Regions from separate parts of the Homo sapiens genome. Here all the other regions are linked to region 4. The links are contacts of gene promoters, found by promoter capture Hi-C in blood cells and fetal thymus (Javierre and others, 2016). All regions are on one chromosome and are shown on one strand. Each heading gives the region's core, a stretch centred on a gene start or on the middle of the fragment in contact. The rest is flanking DNA. Distances are from core to core; before and after follow the strand shown.

Region 1 (3,602 bases), core at 258-2,757, 900 kb before region 4:
TTTTAACTTCTATGATTTCCTGGAAGTGTACAATATTAGAAATTGGTCAACAGACTTATAACCACAGTAAGAGAGGTTTTCACTATATACACATGTATGTACTTACCCACATATATCTCATTTAAAATTCAACAAGTAGAGTCCTGCATCTTCGAAATAGTACAATTCCTTGTAATTTATGCTTGCCTCCTTTTCTTCTTAACTAAATCTCACAAATTCTAAAGCTTTACCATTTAAAATTCTTCACCAAAGATAATTCCTTACCAGAGAGAAAATGGTTTACCTGTTTGTGGAACTACTAAGAAATTAAATTAATTACTCAGACTTGAAGGTTGTGTATTTTCAGGAAAAGAATTCTTACAGCTATAACAACTTTCATCTTCCAAGAGATGTAATTCCACATCCTATCTCTCAGATGAAAGGTGTCAAGTTCTCCAAGCCTCCATCCAATCCTATTCTGAAAATGAAAAGCTGACACTATTTGGAAAAAAACAAAACTACATTTATTAATTGTCAGAACAGGATACAACATTAATTTCTTTGCTCTTGTGACAAGCAATTTTTGCTAAGAAGCCAAGAGAAGAGGTTGTTATAAGAGGCAGCTGCTTGGGTGAAATAAACATTCAGGAGCCATTCTTACCTTAACAATAGTCACATCCATGCCAGATAAATGTAAAATCGGGGCAGCATTTTTTTCAAATAGAGTCCTGGCTTTTCTGTTAACAAAGGAAAAAATATAAACATTTTAACACAGGTTATCAAGAGCAAGAACAAAAAGCCTTACAATCTTCTTCAGGGCAGAATAAGAAAGACTATGCAATACGGGTTTCCTTTATTTGTTCAAGCACAGAAAGTTTAACAACAAGTAATGAGTTAATATGAATGGAAAAATAGAACCTTAAACTCTGGGGCCTTTGAGAATTTGCTGTTTATCTAATGCAATAAGCTCTTATCCATTTGGGAGGCTTATAGTTCACAAAGTAGTTCCTCTAGGGGAAGAACGAACACTAGATATGGTTCCATTCAGGCAACAATGCTTGATTCACTCAAGTATTCATTGAGCACCTACTGTGTGATAGACACAGGTGGAGGAGCTAGGAATACAACATAACAAAGCAGACCAAACTACTAATTCACCAGAAGCTAGTCTGAAACTCCCAGGCACAGTCATGCCCTCTCTGTGCTCCCCTAGTACCTTATACACATCTCTGTTAGTGACTTTCATACTGTATGGTGATTAGAGACTTCCAAGACTGTTGTCAGGACTAGACTGGAAGCGTTCTAAAAATAAATACCAAATCTTATTAATCCTTGAATCCCCTGACCTCTAGGATTATGTATGGCACAATTAGAAAGTACTTACTAAGTATCTGATGAATTAATGCACAAACGAATGAATAAACCTGCCCCAAATGTAGACATGTAAATTCTGAGGAAAAGGAAACAACACGATGTCTTATAAGAAGAGAAAAAACAGCCTTCAAAGAGTTTGCATATTTCAAAAGTATTATGCATATCATTCTGACAGTGAACTCTTGTCCAATTCAGGTCAGAATTCAAAAACACAGTCTAGGAATCCAGGGACACAGAAGTTGCAAAACAATCTCTTCCACCAATGGCATAGTCTCAAAGTCAAACTAATGTTAAAACATACCAATTAGTTGACCTTTTACTCAAATATTTCAACTATTACATAAGGAAAAAAAAATCCAGTACTTTCAATCAATGTCAAACACCTAACTTTTATATCCACATTTACTCAGTCCTCTGTCTTATTTTTAAACTAAGGCTGTATCCTTTGACCTTAAGGATACTTTATACAAGAATTTAAGGATATTTTATAGAAGAGACATTTTATATTCAGCTACAAAGGCAGCTAATGAGGAACACGTATAGTTATGCACAGGCCAAGCTCAATATTCTTTAAACTAAAAAGAACCACCAAATGGCATATAGAACACAAATCACTTCTTATTGTGAATTAAAATAGAAATTGAGAGGCTTGCACAAATTTTCACAAGAACCATCCAAAAGAATATCTCAAACCAAGGGCCTGAGTGTATTATAAGCAAATTAAATATTTTCTACCTTTCTACTGCTCTGAATGATTATTAGAATGAACATAAAAGGGTAAATGATAATTTCTCCTTTCCAGCTCACCATTTCTGGGGGCTTAACCCAACATTAAAGCACTGAGCTAGTGGTACTGCAAACAATTCTCCTTCCAGGGTTGCTTTCATTACTAGATTGATAGGAAAGGATCAGTTGGAAGTGGATCAGATCTATTTCCTAAAAGCAAAATTCTGAAGAAGTCTCAATCTGCCATATCAATCACAACAAATCTGTAACCTCCTCTGAGTTAGTTTAAGAAATCAGGTTAGAATATTTGGGTCTTTATTCACATCTTTATATGATGTTATAAGTTCAGAAAACCTCTAAAATGAAGGTGAAGACTTTTTTCCTTCTAATTTTCTATATAAAAGATTGAAAAACAAGTGTTACTAATAAGAAATAAATTATTTATTACATAATTAAGGGTGAGATAACACCGAGGCTAAATAAAAACCTTAGGTACTTTTAGCAATTTCCAGACTCAGGCACATACAAAAAATAATTACTCTTTTATGTATTATTTATTAATGCTAAACACACAGTTATCTTATTTCTTAAAGCTCTTATGTAGTTTTAAACCAGTACTACATAATGAAATAGCTACATGATAAATTATAAATTATGTGTCAGGACAGAGCTATGATGACAAAAATAGTGCAATTAAATAGTGAAAGCTTTTAAAAGAAAAAAAGAAAGGATGCTGGAGAGTTTCAGACTTTCCCAGAAGCACGCAGGGATTCTTCACCTTGTTAAAGGAGACAACACCTTTAGAAAAGACTTTCCTTCAGTGGCAGTATTTTAGCTTACCTTTAGATAAAGATGTTATAGTTTTAAACAAGAATCTACCTTTAAAAATGCAAATATATTTACATGTAAAAAGACCCTAAAATTGCTCTGAAAAATTTGCTTATTAATTTTAAAAATGTAGATACCTCTTAGAAGCAGGAACTCAAAATAACTGGTTATTGCTTAAACAAATTGCCATAAGTTTCATCAGAAATTAGCAGGTTGTTAATTTATTAGGTCTCTAAAGGAATAGAAGAGTTACACTGAAGTAGGTCGAAGGAGAGGTACAAGAGCTTCTGGGAAGGATGGGATAGCGAAGTGAAGACTGTTCTGAACCTAACCCATAGTCAAGAGTAACAATTTCAGCAGTTTATATTTCTTACATTGTGTGCTTATTATGAAATGGAAATAGTGCCTAATAAGCATTATCTCATTTAATACCAAAGGTCCCTATTCCACATAATAATTTTTAAAGTATGTACTATTGCCTTTCTGATTTTACAGATGAGTAAACTGGGGATTTAAGAAGTGAATTAACTCCCACAATATCATAGAGCTAGTAAGTGGCAAAACAGTAAACAGACCAGATTCCTCAAACTCCCAGACCCAGGCTGAGTTCTCTGTTATCTTCAGCCACGGGCCACCACTGACAATTTACTTATCTTAGGTATTTTGACTGTGTTATATTAGGGCTTGTTGATTTG
Region 2 (4,128 bases), core at 1,259-3,758, 840 kb before region 4:
AGCTTCAAATTCAGCATGACTATTAATCTCTTGGTGCTAGAGTTCCTTTATTGAGTATTAAGTGTTCTATACAATGGGGACATGGAACAAAAAGTTGTGAACAGAGGTCATTGAGTATTTGTGAGATGGTCCATCTTCAATTCTACTACTTAGTTCCCTGACTTATGTACTCTGGTTAATGGAAGAACTGCATCATATATTGAGCTGGTTCAAAGAATATTCTTAATCTTACAGGCAGCACTTTATATTGAAAGCATTTATTTAACTGAGGGCATGAGTGAAGTATAATAGGTTATTCCACTATTCTATAAGGACAGCTGCTTCTGGGTTGTTGGGTATCACATGATAAGACCAGTGATTCTCGTCTGCTATAACCCATTATTTAACTTGGGGTCCTTGGTTAGAAGCAATGTTGTCCAAGAAACTACAATCATTTATAAGACCTACCGTAAGTCCCCAGACAGTGGTTCTGGCAAAGCATGACCAAAACCAAGTCTGTGAATCCTTCATGGGGTCTTACTGTAAGCTGAGCTGTCTGTAGACACTGGAAGCATGATTAGATCTAAAGGACAAAATCAGATCATATCTGATCAGCAGAGGAATCTTCTCATGCTCTGAGCTCACTGAAACCTGGTAGCTTTTCATTCACCTCTCAAGTGGGTACTGGAGCACACACAAATCTTATACTTGCTGCCTCGAAAACATGTGCCTTCTTTTGGTAGAAGGTGCAGTGCACAGCGCCCTTCCCCTACTCTGATGCATTAATGCAGTGGACTAGCCAGTGTGATGTCTTTGGGATTGGTATGGTAGTAAAAGTCCCTTGTCCTTAGGGCCACATTGTTCCAATGACCATAGATCATAATATTTTCAATATTGAATATATCACTGTTTATTCCTTCACTGTTTTGTTTTTGTTTTGGAAATGGAGTCTCACTCTGCTGCCCAGGCTGGAGTGCAGTGGGGCTGGCACGATCTCAGCTCACTGCAACCTCCACCTCCCAGGTTCAAGTGATTCTCCTGCCTCAGCCTCTCCAGTAGCTAGGATTACAGGGACGTGCCACCACGTCTGGCTAATTTTTGTATTTTTTTAGTAGAGGCAGTGTTTCACCATGTTGGCCAGGCTGGTCTCGAACTCCTGACCTCAACTGATCTGCCCGCCTCAGCCTCCCAAAGTCCTGGGATTACAGGAGTGAGTCATCTCACCTGGTCTATTCCTTTACTGTTGAATGACTACCCATTAAGATTTTAACTTAAAAAATTTAAATAATTGACGTCATTTATTATAAATGTAGGGTTAGTTTTTAAAACTAGAATTAATGAATCAGAGGAAATATATTTGAGGTTCCAGATGCATTTTTCCAAATTTTTTAATTAAAAGCTTATAACCAATTTATGTTCCCACTATCTTCACTGGATAGTGCCTCTCATAGCACCCTTGCCATCAATAAGTATTGTTTTGCCCAATGTCTACTTATTTAATTGCTGGGAAAATAGTATTTCATTTTTTCAGTTTAAATTTCTTTGGTTATGAGTAAAACTATTTTTTCATCTATCCAGCCATTTTCCTCTTCCATAGAAATTTGCCTGTCTTTTACTTGTATTTTTATTCTATTTTCCCAACTTGCTTTTTATGTTTATTTTTATTTTTAAAATTCTATAAACTTACCTAAATGACTAAAGGATCAATCATTTTAGAAGGATGATCTACTAACTGGATTCTGTTGATGTTTTAATGCTTTTCTTGTCAGTTTGATACATGCTCTTTATGTAGTAAGGATGGTAATCCTTTGACTTATTTGTTGCAAATATTTAGCACTTGGTTTACAATATGTTTCGAAATAAAAGTAAAGAAAAAAACCTCTTGAATTTTATGTAGTTAAATCTCAGGCATATTCTTGGAGAGTCCTCTATCTAGTGATCAAAATTTATTTATATTTTCTTGGAGTTTTCTATGGTTTCATTTTTTATATTAATCTCTTAAAACTCACATATAATTATTGTTCTGTATCAAAATGTACCCAAATCTGTCCAACCTTAAGGTCTTCACTGAAGCCATTCCATTCACTTATCACCTAACTCCTTCTCACCTTCCTCCTCTCAGCTGAAAGGTGGCTTCACTCAAGAGACCTTCCCTGAGCCATCTGTTTAAATTAGGTTCCTTCTGTTGCCCTCTTTAATAGATTCCTTAACCTGTATGGCATTCATAATAATCTGTAATTATGTATTTAGTTCTTTAATTGTTTAATGCCCCCCATCTACTGTATTCTAAATTATATGAGAGCAGAAACAGTATTATTCTTTCTTACAGAATATCCATATCTTTATTTATAAAGTGCCTGGCATAAAATAAATAAAGGTTGAATGATTGAATGAGCCATGAACTTCCTTTGCTTTCTGCCCTCCCACATACAAAATTACATTTGTCTTTGTTCAAACTTAATAGTACAACCACTTTCCTCTGCTGCAGACTCAGGGAGCTTATGTTCACTCCTCCCATCCACAGCTCATCCATCCACCCGTGCTTGGGATGGCACCCCCATCTTCCCGTCCCCGAGAAATCTGCCTCATCAGTCCTTTCCTCACTCTGGTATTTTCTCCCTCCATCTCCACTGTCTTTTCCTCTTAGCATATAAACCTACTCAAAATCTGCCCACTCTAACATAGAAATATACCAAAATTACCCCCTTTCTTCTCCTTGCATTCCCACTACAATTTTTAAAATAAATCTTATTGGCATAACATTTACATACAACGAAATGCACCCATTTTTAGTGTGCAGATTGATGACTTTTGATAAATGCGTATGTTCCTATACTGGCCACAATGAAGATACAGACATTTCCATTGCCACCCAAGTGTTCTCTTATTCTTTTCCAGTCAGTTCCTACATTCCCTCAGTCCACCCCAACACCAGCCAATCACTAATCTTCTTTCTACCACTGTATGTTAATTTGTATCTTTTAGAGTTTTACATAAATGGAATTGTACAATATAGAACCTTTTGTTTCTGGCTTTTCTCTCAACACGGTTTTTTTTTTTTTTAAGATTTATCCATTGTGTGCTTCAGTAGTTTGCTCTTATTGATGACTAGTAGCCCATTGCATGGGTTTACTGCAATTTTTTTCATTCATTCACCTGTTGACAGACATTTAGGTTGTTTCAGGCTTTTTGCCATTATAAACAAAGGTGCATTCAACATTTGTATACAAGTCTTTTTGTGATATATGTTTATGTTTTTATTTCTTTTGGGTAAATACATAGGAAAGTGATGGCTGGGTTTTATGTAAGTGTGTTTAATTTCTTAAGACACTGTCAAACTAGTTTCCAAACTGGTTGCACTCCTTTACATTCCTGGAAGCAGGATATGAGACTTCCAATGGCTCCACATCCTCACCAGCACTTGGTATGTTAGTTTTAAAACTGAAGACATCCTAATATATCTAATCATCTGTGGAAGATATTGACAAAGCATCTGTTGAAATGTTTTGCCCATTTAAAAAATTCTTCTTATTGAATTGTTAAAGTTCTTTATATATTTTAGATACAAATCCCTTTCAGATATATTTTGCAAATATTTTCTTCCAGTCTATGTTGTGCTTTATTTTTATAACAGTGCTTTTTGAAAAGCAAAAGCTTTACATTTGGTGAAGTACAATTTATTGATTTTTTTTCTTTTATAGTTCATATTTGTAGGGCCCATTTAAGAGTTTTTTGCTTAATGCAATATCATTCCGATTTCTCCGATTTTTTTTTTCTTGCAGAAGTTTTATAATTTTTATTTTTATTTTTTGGTTAGGTCTATTACCTATTTTAAGTTAATATTTGTGAACTGTGTGAGGTAGGGGTTGAGGTTCTTTTTCCCATATGCCTCTCTTCAGTTGTTCCAATGTTATTTCTTTTCTTTTCTTTTCTTTTCTTTCTTTTCTTCCTTTTTTTTTTTTTTTTTCTTTTTGAAATGGAGTTTCTCTCTTGTCGCCCAGGCTAGAGTGCAATGGTGCGATCTCGGCTCACTGCTATCTCTGCCTCCAGTATTCAAGCGATTCTCCTGCCTCAGCCTCCTGAGTAACTGGGATTACAGGCACATGCCACCATGCCCAGCTAATTTTGTATTTTTAGTAGAGATGGGGT
Region 3 (3,922 bases), core at 1,363-3,862, 950 kb before region 4:
GATTTGAATATTGCTGGTCTCACTGGCCAGACTGTCAATGAAGATTGTGTGATTTCTGGACATTCTGTAGAAGGAACAGGATTTTCCCTTCTTATAGATACAGCAAGAAAATCAAAGGCTGCAGAATCAGCTATTCAGTCTCTGAAGAATTTATGCCAAAGGCAAGAACAACAAACTTATGTGCCTGTGTAGATAATGAAGTAGCCATGGAGACCAGGCCGCTGCAGCAGAAATGTGTGATCCCTAAATGGGCACGAGAGGGAGCTCTGAGACAAAGCACAGAAAAGCGGAGCTGAGCAGATTACCAGTTGGCATGGGAACACACCAGCTCCTCAGATGCCCTGAAGGAGGATTTATAGTGTTCTTTACCAATAAAATTCTGGCAGAGGTAGGACTTAACAAATCACAGAACTTGGAAGGGTATTCTGTATTGGAAAAGGGAAAAAGGCCTGGGAAATGTCCAAGGTACTCAATACCTTTTCCAGTTTTTCATGAAGGCCCTGGGAATAGGAGGACATGGTGAACTGACATAAATAGTAATGGATACTGTGAAGTGCTTCAAAATATAAAAAGGCTTGACACACATTCTCTTACTCAAGGCTGAAAGCCAGTCCTGAGATCGGCAGAGATGATTATTTCATTCTGTAGACGGAAAGAATTCAGAGATGCTAAATGATCCGAGTCATGACGTCGGGTAAGTGGCAGAATCAAAATTTGCATTCAGCTCTTTGACCCTGAAACCAAAGTTCTTGACGCTGTGTCATGCTCCATTGAATTCTTTGGTTTCAATTGAAAAACAAAGACTGCTCTTACATTCTGATCCCCACAAAATGAACAGTGATGGCCAGCATAGGAGAGGGGCACTCTACATGTCAGCCCATAGGAAAGAAATAACATCGAAATTCCCAAACAAGACAAGGCTTTGGCTGGATTTCTGTCTTAGACTTCATGGGGCACTCTGAATAGTAAAATCTGAGAAAATCACAAGCCTCATTTCCTGTGAACCCCAGTCCACTTACCCTATAGTTATAAAGTCTCCTTTGCTGATGGTGTCAGGTTCAATGCAGATATTCAGAAAATCTTCTTTGCTCTAAAAAGGTTAAGAACACTAACGTCATTACTCTTAAAATTTGGCTAATGCAGCCTGTTGTCATCCTCAGCTTTGATGGTTCATAGTTTGAAGCTATATATAGATAGGGGACTCTACTTGTAGTGATTTAATTCCAAACCTATTTTCAATCTTTTTTTTTTTTTTTTTCACAAAGAGCTTTACTGAGGTATAATTTATAGAAAATTCATCTCCATTGCTTGGCTTTTTTTTTTACTACATAAGCAAACAAAACTCAGAGTGGGAGGTTCTGGACGTTCTGTCACTCACTAGTAATTATTAGCCGTTCTAGTCTCTAGGATTACTTCCCTTGCAGGCCAAGCTTTCAGCCCATCCCAGCAATCTCAGTGTTCACTGTACATGAGCTTCACATGACAGCATGGAATCGGCTGCTTGGTGTGGAGAGCCCAAGTGCCTGTGCTTCTTTAATGCTCTACATACAAATTTGGTGTGCAACCAGAGTTGGAAAACAGCAATCCGTTTATTCTATGGTAATGTTTAAAAACTTTCCATTTCCAGCCACAGAAAGCTCTGGATGATTTGAGCTACGACAAAATGGCTATCAAAACAGACTTGGTTCTTGGACCAGTTCCCATAATTTGCTACCAGTCAGTGACTAGCCATACAAACCTAGCCCTCTGTAAATCAATCCCACAACTTCTATGTCAGCTTCAAATAGAGGTCTTGTTTCTTTTGGGGTAGGTTCAAAATGTTCAGGCCCAGGATTTGAGGCCTCTGAGAGCCTTAAAGCCTTTGCCTAAGATTAAAGGGTAACTAACAAAGAACTCTCAACTAAGAATTACAAAACATAAAGTGGATGACTTTGAAAGTTCACCTTTTATTTAACTACTTACTGAGTGCCAGTCATGCACCATGAACCCACGGAGCTTGGGTTACACCAATGAACAAAACCCACATGACTTTCTGCCTACAAAGAACTTACTTTCTACTGTAGAGACTGGAGGGAATAGATGGATCATAGTAAATTATAAACTCTGTTAGAAGATAAGGATGCCACAACTATATTAGAGTTTATTAGAAAATAAGATCAAAGAAGCAGAGCAAGGAACATGAGGTGGCGCTGATGGCAGTGGCTGTGTTATGAAAAAGGGGGTCCCGTGGAGAAGCCTTGGAGAGGAGGCCTGAAGGAGGTGAGGGAGCCGGCGATGTGGCCACCCAGGGCAGTGGTTCTCAAACTTTAGCAGGTGCCACTGTAGAGCAGGTAACATTCAGACTCTGGTTTTTGTTTGTCAACTAAAAAATAAATAATTTTTGGCCAGGCGCGGTGGCTCACGCCTGTGATCTCAGCACTTTGGGAGGCCGAGGCGGGCGGATCAGCCGAGGTCAGGAGTTCGAGACCAGCCCGGCCAACGTGGTGAAACCCCGTCTCTACTAAAAGTACAAATACTAGCCGGGTGTGGTGGCGGGCGCCTGTAATCCCAGCTACTCGGGAGGCTGAGGCGGGAGAATCGCTAGAACCCAGGAGGCAGAGATTGCAGTGAGCCAATATCGCACGATTGCACTCCAGCCTGGGTGACAAGAGTCAAACTCCGTCTCAATCAATCAATCAATAAAAATAATTTTTTTTTAACTCAGACTCTGGCCCCATCCCAAGTTTCTGGTTCAGTAGATCTGGGGTGAGGCCCATGAATTTTCATCTCGAGCAACTTCCATGTGATACTGATGTGCTGATCTGAGAACTGGACTTTGAGAACCCCTAATCCGGGGATGAGCAATCCACACAAGGGGAACTACTGGGGCGGAGGCCTTCAGGTGGTGCTGGGGGAACATGTCTGACAGCAGGGAACAGCAAGGAAGCCCGTGTAGCTGGAGCAGAGCGAATGACAGGGGCAACAAGTGAGGAAGACAGGGAAGAGAGGAGCTACATCAGCAGAGCCTCATAGACCATGGCGAGGAAGCTGGCTTTTAGGCTGAATGAATCAGAGAGCCACTGGAGGGTTCTAAGGAGGGAAATATGTTCTGGCTTCATTTCAATAGGATCACTCTGGCTGCCGTGTTGAGAATTAAGACAGGAGTAGATTGGAGAGGGAGACAGTGGGCTAGGAATTAACATTATAGATAAATGTGTAAGAACGGCCCAGGGTTCAGGAGCTCCCAGGAGCAATGATCTGCTCTGACAATAGGACATTGAGAGGTGGGGCTGGGTGGGGGGGTAGTTAGAGAGGAGGAGGAAGAATGGGTTAAAGCAGTGATGAGTCAGGAGGACAACCACCAAGTCACCAGGCCCAGCATACAAGGGGAGGAAAAGAAAGAAAGCACAGCCACTGCTTAAAGACTGTGGGAAAGGCAAAACTCAGGGGAGAGCCACACTTCAGCTAGAACAGGGTCGGGAAACATTTTCTGTAAAGAGCCAGAGAGTGAACACTGTAGGCTTGCAGACCATGAGGTCTCTCTCACAGCTATTCAACTCAGCCATAGTAGCTGAAAGCAACCAGAGAATATACTCAAATGAATTAGCCTGCCTGTGTTCCAGTAAAATTTGACTTAAAGACACTGAAATTTGAAGACAATTTCCACACGTAACGGGGAAAAATACTCTTCTTTTGATTTTTTTCAATGATTTAAAAATGTAAAAAATATTGTTAGCTTCAAGGCTGTACAAATACAGGCAGCAGGATAGTCGGGCCTGTGGGCTGTCCTTTGCTGACCCCTGTTCTAAAGCTTTGTTCTGGAGGCACAATTAAGTTACCTAGAAAGAAACTGTGGTTCTTTGGAGGTGAGCCTTTAGCTTTGTTAACAGGGAAGAGGGCAGCCTTTAGTCTAGAATTAATTTTGACTCACTACTGAGGCAAT
Region 4 (3,578 bases), core at 787-3,286:
CCTGTGACCTGGTCTCTCCCACTCTTCCCCTACGCTCCACTCCAGCCTGGCCTCCTGCCAACCCTGCGGGCTCTGGCCTCTCCACCTGATGCCTCCTCTGCCCTCTTATGTCCACCGGGCTCTTCCCTTGAGGTCTCTGCATGGCTGACTTCTCATCCCTCAGGTCCCGCTTCAAATCACACTCCCAGGCATTCCCACGCCATCCCCAAATACAATATCCCTTCTACTCCCACACCACGCATTCTCCATATTAATCCCCAGCTGTATTCTCTTCATAACCCTTAACAGTACTCAAAAAAGGTCTTTCTTTTCTACTGGTCTCTCCTCTCCAGAATGTACACTTCATTCTCTCTCGTATTCTGCTATATCCTCAGCACCTAGAAAGGAGCAGCCATATAGAAGATGCTCCATAAACATTTATGCACTTAATTATCACACACTCTGAAACAAGTGTGTGTTACGAACAAGCCAGCACCTCAGGGAAGATCGGCATTCCCCCATCTCCTCATGCAGGACCAAGGGCTGTCGCTCATGGCTCTCCATCACTGTCTTTGCCCAAGTCACACAGGGCTTTGCCTTCTGCCCACCCCACACCTGCCCCAGCTCCAGATTCTTCATCCATGTGGGACTTCAGGCAAGTCACTCCTTTCATTTCCTGGGCCTCAGTTCCTTAATAACAACAACAGTTAAAGAATACTTGTACGGTCCTTAGCAGGCACCAGCAATTGTTTTAAACACTTTAGTGAGACCAAGCGCAGTGGCTCGCCTGTATTCCCAACACTTTGGGAGGCCGAGGCTGGAGAATCACTTGAGCCCAGGAGTTAGAGGCTGCAGTGAGCTAGGATCGCGCCACTGCACTCCAGCCTGCCTGACAGAGTTAGACCCCATCTCCTAAAACACACAAACACGCTTTAGATAACAGTAACTCATTTAGTTCCTTGCAAATGGACGCCAAATGGGTGAGGAAACTGAGGCATTAAGAGAATAAGAAACTTTTCCAAGGTCCCACAGCTGGAGTGTGGCAGAGGTGGGATTTGAACCCAGCCACTGTGCGGCCAGAATCCCGCTTGGAATCACGACCCCACACTGCCTCTTGGTAAAGTGTAGCTGATGATCTAAGGGACCTGGAATCATCCATGACTCTTTTCCAGTCCTGCTCTTACGGAATCTCTGCACACCACTAACTCGGCTTCGGCAGCTGCTCCCTACCTCGCACCCGCTCCCTACCTCGCACCCCCAGCCCTCCGCCCTCCGGTCTGCGTCTCGGGCCACCTCGCGGGCGGCTCTGCCTGTCACTCTCCTAAACGCCACGGCTGCCCCAGCGTTGGCTTCCGGCTTTCTGCTCCTCTCACCCGACGGCGCTCTCTCTGGGCGACAGCCTCCACTCCCTGCAGCCAGAGTGATTTTTCAGCATTAAAAAGCGGCCACGTGACGTCTCCGATTAAAGGCTGCCGAACAGACTCTACCCTAAATTCCGCAGCCAGGCACCGGGACCCTGGACCGCGCCCTCCCTAGGCCTCACCGCCGCCGCCCCCCGCCTCGCTCCAGGAGCGTCCACACCCGCCGCGCACGCTGCTTCCTCCGCCTGGACCGCCCGCGCCGGCGCCGACTGGCTCAGCCCGCTCCGCATTCACGCGTGCGTCTCCCGAGGGCAGGCGGCCCCTACTACCATGACGGCCCTGCACACGGTGTCCCATCTGCCCAGCGAAGTCTCTCCCTCTCCCTCCGGCCAGCGGGGTCCCTCTCCTCGAGTCGCGGCTTCAGGAGACACGCGGACTACAGGTCCCAGCATGCCTCGGGACGCGGCCTCTTCAGGCGCCCCAGTCAAGGTGAGAGCGTCCCAGGGACCCGCGCTGTCCGCTACAGGCCGGCGAGGCCCCCATCCCCAGCCCCACACTCACTGACGGACTCCACCATCTCCAGCAGTCCGTGCGCAGCCGCTTCTGAAAAGGCGGCCTCCAACGCGAGCGAAAGACGCCAGCCGAGTCAGAGCGGACATACTCGCTCCCGTCCGCCCCGCGGTCCCCAGCCGCCTCGCCCCTGCCTACTTCGCTTCCCCGGCGCTCCGCCCGCGCCTCCCGTGACGTCACAGAGTCGCTCATCTCCAGGAGTGGGGGAGCCGGCAGCCGCTCCTGACCCAGATTAGCTGTGAGTCCTTCGGCTGCAGGAAACCTCTCTCCCGAGAGCAAAGCCCACGCATAACTTATGGTTGCTGAGCTGCCCCATGCCTTCTGAAACAGCTTGTTGGTTGCCCCTCTGATCCTGTAGGGCTCTCCCCGTGTTCTGCCCCTCCTAAAACTGAGTGGTGTATAATTCTTTTTTTTTTTTTTTTTTCTTTTTGAGACAAGGCCTTGCTCTGTCACCCAGGCTGGAGTGCAGTGACACCATCTCGGCTCACTGCAACCTCTGCCTCCCAGGCTCAAGCGATTCTCCTGCCTCAACTTCCCGAGTAGCTGGGATTACAGGCATTGTGCCAGGCTAAGTTCGTACGCAGCAATAGATAATGCCACAAATGGCTTGATTCGATCCACTGGCTTTAAGGCTGGGTTGGCATAGGCTCAGGGAAGAGACTGCCGTCTTTTTGTCCCTTTCCCGCCTCCACACTGTACCTGATGCGCACTGGCACGAGGGGCTGCGTGACCAGCTGGTGTTCTCCCTCCCAGCCATCTGGAGCCATCCCAACCCCTCTCTGCCTGCTTTGAATGTCCCCTCAAGACCTGGGAAGGAAAAAATAACATCACCTCCTTGAAAAAAACTGCACCAAAGGAATCTCTGTCCACCTAAACCATACTGCTCACTAAAAGACAGGAATGAGGAACTTTATCCTGGAGAAGGAAAGAATGGGAGAAACTAGTCCTGTAGTCAGGGCAGGACTCTCGGAGAGCGCAAGGGCTTGACTCCATTCGCTGCCTGGTGGTCTCTAAGACGAGCAACATAATCTATGAAGGTGCAGGGATAAACTGTGATTTTACCTAAAAAAAAAAAAAAAGAGAAATTAAGCTTTACAAATACCCCCCCTCCAGGCTGACCCCGGGCCCCTCCTAGTCAGCCAGACGGCCACATCAGCTCAGCTCTGAGAAGAAAGCCCGTGGTTGGGCCTGGCAGAGAGGGGCAGGTGGTGGTCACTGCAGGTCTGTCCCTGGGCGCTGCCATGGAGAAGAGGACACACTGGTTATATTAACTCTCTTCATATTCACCAAAATTAATGCCTGCAAGTGGACAGGCGCAGACACTGTGGCAGAGAAACTGTAGTTCCGGACTAGCGGGTGAACCCGGGGCCATGTTAAGGAAGTGGCCAAGCCGTTCTGCTCACGTCCCCGGTATGTCAGCCACTTTCATCAGTTTTGTTTTACCTTGTAATAAAAGTTACCAAGGAGTTAGCAAAATCTATTAAAAATTACCAAGAAGATAATTTGAAGTACAATGAAATTTGCCCTAAGTGTATATTATGCTGGCAGGTAGCACCTGCATGATATTTATACATAAAGAGTGTGTGTGTGTGTGTGTGTGTGTGCACATGCCACAGATCAGTAGGACTTGATGGCATTTTCTAACCTGAATATCAAAGTCTGGGAACT

Evidence for each region. The method cuts DNA at HindIII sites, captures the fragments that hold promoters and counts their contacts. A CHiCAGO score of 5 or more calls a contact.
Region 1: a fragment that was not itself captured here is called in contact with the fragment with the promoter of NDUFB2 in region 4 in 1 of 17 cell types (endothelial precursors); the score reaches 5.6 in endothelial precursors.
Region 2: a fragment that was not itself captured here is called in contact with the fragment with the promoter of NDUFB2 in region 4 in 1 of 17 cell types (endothelial precursors); the score reaches 6.3 in endothelial precursors.
Region 3: a fragment that was not itself captured here is called in contact with the fragment with the promoter of NDUFB2 in region 4 in 2 of 17 cell types (endothelial precursors and megakaryocytes); the score reaches 5.2 in endothelial precursors.

What each region holds. Positions count from the first base shown.
Region 1 is chr7:141,598,319-141,601,920 of GRCh38, reverse strand. It overlaps AGK (acylglycerol kinase), which reads right to left. Exons shown (of 16, transcript NM_018238.4): 5 at 641-716. Among named protein-coding and RNA genes, the nearest start is that of AGK, 49 kb to the right of the region's middle. The HindIII fragment of the contact is 2,562 bases long and covers 227-2,788 here.
Region 2 is chr7:141,537,301-141,541,428 of GRCh38, reverse strand. The region is part of intron 1 of AGK-DT (AGK divergent transcript); the gene reads left to right. Among named protein-coding and RNA genes, the nearest start is that of AGK-DT, 12 kb to the left of the region's middle. The HindIII fragment of the contact is 2,255 bases long and covers 1,381-3,635 here.
Region 3 is chr7:141,646,431-141,650,352 of GRCh38, reverse strand. AGK (acylglycerol kinase) reads right to left here. Exons shown (of 16, transcript NM_018238.4): 14 at 1,020-1,090. Among named protein-coding and RNA genes, the nearest start is that of DENND11, 54 kb to the left of the region's middle. The HindIII fragment of the contact is 2,360 bases long and covers 1,433-3,792 here.
Region 4 is chr7:140,695,166-140,698,743 of GRCh38, reverse strand. NDUFB2 (NADH:ubiquinone oxidoreductase subunit B2) reads right to left here and starts at 2,036. Exons shown (of 4, transcript NM_004546.3): 1 at 1,902-2,036. The coding sequence starts at 1,999. It overlaps NDUFB2-AS1 (NDUFB2 antisense RNA 1), which reads left to right and starts at 1,667. Exons shown (of 2, transcript NR_024454.1): 1 at 1,667-1,829; 2 at 1,924-3,408. RefSeq lists an enhancer at 1,718-2,027. The HindIII fragment of the contact is 6,958 bases long and covers 1-3,002 here.